2 separate regions of the Homo sapiens genome follow, and region 2 is linked to region 1. The links are contacts of gene promoters, found by promoter capture Hi-C in blood cells and fetal thymus (Javierre and others, 2016). All regions are on one chromosome and are shown on one strand. Each heading gives the region's core, a stretch centred on a gene start or on the middle of the fragment in contact. The rest is flanking DNA. Distances are from core to core; before and after follow the strand shown. Region 1 holds the start of IL1RL1 (interleukin 1 receptor like 1). Region 2 overlaps IL18RAP (interleukin 18 receptor accessory protein).

The links. Contacts are between HindIII fragments. The CHiCAGO score rates a contact against its expected background, and 5 or more counts as called.
Region 2: a contact is called between a fragment that was not itself captured here and the fragment with the promoter of IL1RL1 in region 1, in 1 of 17 cell types (total CD8 T cells). The highest score is 5.0, in total CD8 T cells.

What each region holds. Positions count from the first base shown.
Region 1 is chr2:102,309,586-102,313,047 of GRCh38, reverse strand. It overlaps IL1RL1 (interleukin 1 receptor like 1), which reads right to left and starts at 1,485. Exons shown (of 11, transcript NM_016232.5): 1 at 1,425-1,485. The HindIII fragment of the contact is 5,145 bases long and covers 184-3,462 here.
Region 2 is chr2:102,438,775-102,442,236 of GRCh38, reverse strand. It overlaps IL18RAP (interleukin 18 receptor accessory protein), which reads right to left. Exons shown (of 10, transcript NM_001393487.1): 5 at 860-925. Among named protein-coding and RNA genes, the nearest start is that of MIR4772, 8.2 kb to the right of the region's middle. The HindIII fragment of the contact is 1,621 bases long and covers 1,092-2,712 here.

The DNA.
Region 1 (3,462 bases), core at 236-2,735:
CTCTGCATGGAATAGCCAAAATTAGATGATTATGTCCACAATGGTATTCAGGAACAATGGCATGTGAATAGTTTGGCCTCAGGATCTAGTAGGAGAACTGTTATAGCCAGACAGAAACATGCCTCCGATTTCCTTATGCCTGGAAGAAATTAAAGGAAAAACTGACATTCAGTGGATAAAGCTTTGGGGGCCAGTTCTGCTATGTTTACCTCTGCACCCTCTGTTGAAGTAGCCTTCAGAGAGAAGAAGAATGGAGCCACCAAGCAGAGGATCAAAGCAGGCACCCGCAACAAACTTGAACTTACATCAGTCATTCACTCCCCACCCCTCCAGAAACAATGGCCCTCACTCAAGAGGGCCTTCTCATATCCTCATATCCACCCCTCTCATGTCCGTTCTCTATTTTCTTCTTGCAGATGGGTATGACCCTGCTTCCTCACCCCTTTTGGCCAGCAGCTTCTTGCTTCATTTGTTTTGTTTTTTTCCTTCATCTCCATCTGAGTAGATTACACTGCTGGATTTTGTGGATTTCAGAAAGAATAACTCCAGAATATGAGCACTCTGTGTGTATACTATAAAGCTCCCATCCTTTCTTACCCTCAACCAGGTCTTTTCCAACACGTTGGACCAAAGTCCCATATTACACAAACAAGATTTCAAGGGATTTCATCAATCTGTACCATGATTTTCCCATTGGTAATACTACTTTTCTCACAAGCAAAATTGATAACAATGATTATTATTGTTATAATGTTATATATATTACATTATATATTATATTATAGGCCCTTCATTTGCATAAGGCACCAAAACACAATTAAACTCCTTTAAATTTAATTCAGCTAAAGTTTTTCTTTTAACAGAAGATTGTTTGGAAAGCTAAGTCTTCCCTCTGTCATTGAGTGAATGTTTTCCTCAATATAAATATAATATTATATATATTATATTTAATATATAATAATGTTATAACATTATAACAATAATGTTATATATATTATATATATAATATTTAATATATAATATATATTATATATAATATATATAAATATATTATATATAATATATATTATATATAATATTATATATAATATATATTATATATAATATTATATATAATATATATTATATAATAAAATATATAACATATATGATATATTATATATTATATTATATAATATATATTATATAATTATATTATATATTACAATTATATAATATATATTATATAATTGTATTATATATAATATATAATTGTTATAATGTTATAACAATTATATATTATATATATTATATATTATTATAACATATAATGTTATAATAATATAACAATGAATATTATTGTTATAATGACCTAAATTCGTATGTGAAAATTTTGTTCCCTTTGAGATAAAAGTATTTTTGAAAAATACCCCAAAGCCACTTACCCTCATTGGGTTGTACTTGAGTTCTTTCTTCCTCAACTTTCTGCCCACAGTTTCACAACTCAGAAAGCCAATTTCTCTTACAGCTTTATAGCTTTACTAAATACAACAGCCAGCCTCTCTTTAAAAACCTCCCATTTTCTTTATCAGTTAAGAGACAGGAACCAGGTTACTGATAAGCTGAACCCGATGATCACACTGTTAACAAATGTTAACTGCAGTTTTCACCACATTCTCCCTATTTGAAAGATCTTTAATGAAGTTCTATTTCCAATTTTTACCTTATCTCTATAGATAGTTACATTTTGTCTTAACTATATTTTGCCTTCTTCATGAGTGACTTTCTCAGCAAAACCTCCCTAACACCATGTAGGTGGCAGGTCACTCATTTCCCTTAACGCGAGTTGGTAGTTGTAACTTCCCTATAGTCACATTTCTAGAACAAGAGTACCCATTTCTGCAGCAAGTTGCTTATTTGGTGTTTCTTTCTTTTTTTTTTTTTTTTTTTTTTGAGGCAAAGCCTCACTGTGTCACCCAGGCTGGAGTGCAGTGGCACAATATCAGCTCACTCTGCAGCAAGTTTTGTAACTGATGCCTCGTTGGCAATGTTTTTGAAAACTTTGACACATCTCGTGTGCTTAAGTGTACACCAGGCTCTGTGTGCAGTAATTTGGTATGTGCTATCCCACGCAATCCTCAGAAGCTGACAGGAGCTTCAGAGAGGAGAATTACCTTACCCAAGGTAGCAGCCAGTACAAGGGAAATCCAGGATCCAAAGTGTCTATACCTGGGCTTTTTCCACATGCCCGAGATGGCCTATCTCAGGTGGTTGTAATAGAGATTTATGGACATGTGCTGCAATTATTAGAATTCTGGATAAACTAACCTTAATTATCTATGCAATTTCTAAAAATATTGGTGACTTTCAAATAATCAGGATGTGCCATCTGCCAGAGTCTTCCCTAATATAATAGAGCATGAGATTTAGGGAGAGCACAGCCTAGTTTTCCTCTTCCCAGCTGCTTGACTTTGGGCAAATTCTCTAACCTCTCTCTCGTGTGAAGGGTATTGTTGTCAATATTAAATCAGTAACCTATGGAGGATGCTATCCATATTGATGAAATACTAGTGATTTTCTGCTCTATCATATACCCATCCTATCACACCCAGCACAATTGTGTTTAAAATAAAAACAAACCTTCTGGCAGGGCATGGTAGCTCACGCCTGTAATCCCAACATCCTGGCCAACATGGTGAAACCCCGTCTCTACTAAAATACAAAAATTTGCTGCGTGTGATGGTGCACACCTCTAATCCAAGCTACTCAGGAGGCTGAGGCACGAGAATTGCTTGAACCCGGGAGTCAAAGGTTGCAGTGAGCCAAGACTGCACCACGGTGCTCCAGCCTTGGTGACACAGCGAAACTCTGTCTCAAAAACAAACAAACAAACAAAAAAACCCTTCAAAATGTATTTGAAAAGATGGAATGATTCATAATATGTACCATATCTAGACACCATGTTTATGTCAAGAGACTAACAAAACCTGGGTAGCACCTGACCTTCAATCTTTAACATCACTGACGCTCGTTTTGGTTTGGGTGCAGAGCTAAGATGTCTTCTCTGTGTGAATACAACCTCACCTCCCCCACCCCCACCTCAACACACAGACAAATGAACAGCTGTGTGTACTCTCCTTTTTTTGTGGATTTGTGTCAAGACGCTCGTCCCACCAAGTGAGCTAGATCACCTCTTCTCCTTACCTAGAGTCACCATACATAAAAGATGAAAATCTACATCGAGGAGATAATGGTAGACTCATTTGCGTACTACGCAGTCTTTAGGTGGACTATGACTTCATAAGATCATCAATCATTTATTCTCCACTGCTAGAGAACCACAGAAAATATGCCTAAGTAATACACAAAACAATACTTATCAATGTCCCCAATATTGTGTCAGGCACTGTGAGAGGTGCAAGAGAAGATGAGACTCATTCCTGACCTTGAGGAACTAAACTAAAGATCATGGGAAAAGAGAGG
Region 2 (3,462 bases), core at 653-3,152, 130 kb before region 1:
AAGACATAGATATTATTGAAGTTGACAAAATAAAAGGAGACCCACAGGGAAGTCAATTTCTCCTCAACCCCAAAGAAGACACTACTTTGGAATACAAATTGTTTGGGCAGGGGTTGTAGAATTCTACTACAGTTCTCTTAAATGCCAGATTAAATGTCATATTCATAAGAGTTAATGTTACTCAGGTTGGCGAATTTGTAGTCATAACTGATAGACCTAACCAACATGTACGAAACCACCTGTTCCTGGGGAAGTTAAGGAAGAATAAAATCTATTGATCAGGTTTCATGCTCCAGCCACTTAACATACATTGTCCCATTATTTCTCAGTATAATTTTTTTTTTTCTTTGAGATGGAATCTTGCTCTGCCACCCAGGATGGAGTGCAATGGCTCGATCTCGGCTCACTGTAACCTCCGCCTCCCAGGTTCAGGTGATTCTCCTGCCTTGTCATCCTGAGTAGCTGGGATTACAGGCACCCACACCCACGCCCGGCTAATTTTTGTAGTTTTAGTAGAGATGGGGTTTCACCATGTTGGCCAGGCTGGTCTCAAACTCCTGACCTCAAGTGATCTACCCACCTCAGCCTCCCAAAGTGCTGGGATTACAGGCATAAGCCACCATGCCCGGCCTGCAATATAATCTTTTAGGGTCAGTTTTATGATAGCTATTTGCGGATTTAAGTACTGAGGCTTAAAGGATGAAGTAACTGTGCAAAGTCACAAAACTAGTCAATGGCTGAGTTAAGATTCACACCCAATTCTGTTTGACTGGAAATCCCAATGCTGTTTTCCTTCTATCACACTTAGACCTGCTCCCAGCAGCACGATGTCATTCAAAGGCGATGAGGCCCAGCTTACCAAGTTCTACTTCCAGTGTGTCCTCGACAGGATCCAGAATATCTGGTTTGAGTTTAGTGTCTCCCACTGAAAGATGAAAACAAAGATTACTATTTGCATTGGAAAGTCTGAAGGCCTGCTTGATGAAGATTTAGGTGCACAGCCACACTTTGATCTAAATGTCTTGGAGCTCTGTCTTCACATTTTACTAATTACCTGTAAGTTAGGAATTCCGGTTTCCATGTAAAAAGCTTGCCCCCTAAAATGACTGCCACATCAGGTTGTGGGTGCTGGTAAAACATTAGTTGTTAATTGATCCATATCTGCTTGTGTGCATTCTCTTTCACACTAATCCTGCCCCTTGCAGACCTGAGCTCCTATCCCTGTCTTTTCCCACAAGATTTCTTTGTGGTGCCATCTGGCTGAGTAATTGAACTGAAAGGAGAATCCACCCAAGAAACTGTGCAAGTCAAGCATATCCGAGTCCACCCCTCCATCCTTAAACTCATGGTTTATTTCAAAATAAAGAAGAGTCCAGTCCTTAATTAACAATTTTATCCATCAACTTCTTGCCACAAATATGCCTCCACTGTCAAATATGCCTCCACTGTCAAACTTCCTCCTGAAGGTGTGTCTTTTTCTGGATAAAGAAAAATCCAGGGTCTTTGCTGTTGACATCACCTACTTTTACTTCTCAGAGACCTCCTTCTCCCCTTTGCACCATCTCAGTCCTGTATTTTTAACTTGTCTCTCTCTCCCTCTCTCTCTCTCGCTTTCTCTGGGCTTCTTCTCATCAACATTTATTCATGCTCAGTCTCATCATCCTAAAAAAGAGAAAACACACCCTGCCTTATATCCCAGCCTCACTTATTCTCCTTCCTTCCCAGCCAAATTCTTGAAAGGCAGTTCTATGTGCTAATTCCCTCCATCCTTTCACCTCCTATGGAACCTGATTTCCGCCGCCATCTGTCCACTAAAACTGCTTAACCAAATTCACCAGTGCCACCTATGCACCTAAATCCATTGGGCATAATCACATTTTTCGTCTACTTTACCTCTTAGCAGCATTGGACACTGTTGGCCATGCTCTCTTTGAAACCCTCTCTTCTTTTGGTTCCATGTTCCCGTACTCTACTGCTTACTTTCAACCGCTATATTCACTTCTCTGTGCCTGTCCCTTCCTCTGTGTCTCTTTTAACTATTAGTCCTCTCCTAGTGTTCTTTCACTCCTCCTGATACCCCTGGGTAGTAAGTTTACTCTCTAGGCCTCTTCCCTATGAAAGGTCTTGGTGCCTGAGGTTATGTCTTTCCTACATCATCAATTTCACTTCGTTTGTTTCTCTTCTCACCACCCTTCCACTGATATTCACTTGCTGATGTATGTTCCCATCCTCTTTGAGGATTGTCTTCCTCTTCTCCACCTCTTCAAGCATTTCCGGGTTTGGCTCTAGCCCCTTCTGTCTCTATGCCCACTTCCTAGGTGATCTCATTCAGCTCTTTGGCTTCAGATATTATGTAAAAATCGATCATCTTCACATTCACATCTCCAGCCCTAACTTCTCCAGACTGGCTTGTCCAAATACCTACTTGTCGTCATGACTTGGATGACTAAAAGTCCTTTTAAGCCTAATACTTAATCTCCTCTTCAAATGCTCTTTCCCTTCAGCTTTTTCAGTCTCCTTAAATGGTACCACCATTCACTAACTTATCCAGGGCAGAAAACAAAAAACATCCTTGATTCTTCTCTTTCTCCTACCTTTTATGTAAAAACCATTATCATGCTCTGTTGACCTACAAGTCCAGCTACTTCTCATCACCTCTGCTAGGTCTATTTACAGCACAAGCAGAGGCATGGTTTAACCATGAGTCAAGCTTGCTGCTCCACGACTGTGCCTGCTCTCATCCTCTGTACTGTTGTGCTCTGTCAGCACATTCCCTCCTTGACCAGCTCAAAGGCTGGCTTGTATCCATGGCTCCTGCTTTCCCTCTTCCTTGCTCCCGAACACCAAATCCTTTAAATGTACCTCTTAAACATTTCCAAAGTCATCCACTTCTCTCCATTCCCTCTACCACTCCCTAGTTCAGATCCCTATCAGCAACTGCCTGCTTGACCACAGAACTTCCTAACTCTTCTCCCTGCCTCCATTCCTGCTCTTACAAACCCACTTCCGACCCAGCAAACAAGGTGATCTATCTTGAATACAAATTCAGTCACGACATTCTCCCACTTAAAATCCTCAATGCCTCCCCATTGTTCCTTCATAAATTTTAACACGTATTAGATAATTAGGTAATTAGATAATTTTAACACGTATTAGAAGAGTGTGATGTCAGTCCTACTCCCAGATGCTCTTCTTCATCTCCTGGACATCAGCTCTGCTGCTTCCTCAGTCTGGAATGGAAGCTCCCCACCCTTACTGAGCTGGTGTGTCCTCATCCATCAGCTCTCACTTGGAGCGGGCTTCCCCAGGTTGGGTCTGGTGGGCCTCCATGTGCCCATAGTGCTCCTTTCTCTTGCTGCACTGTATTATGACAGCCTGCTTCACCTTTGTCTTCTTCTCAAAATGGAAAGTTCTTGGAGGCCAGATAAAGCATCCGGGCACTCATTCTTGTAGCCTTAGCTC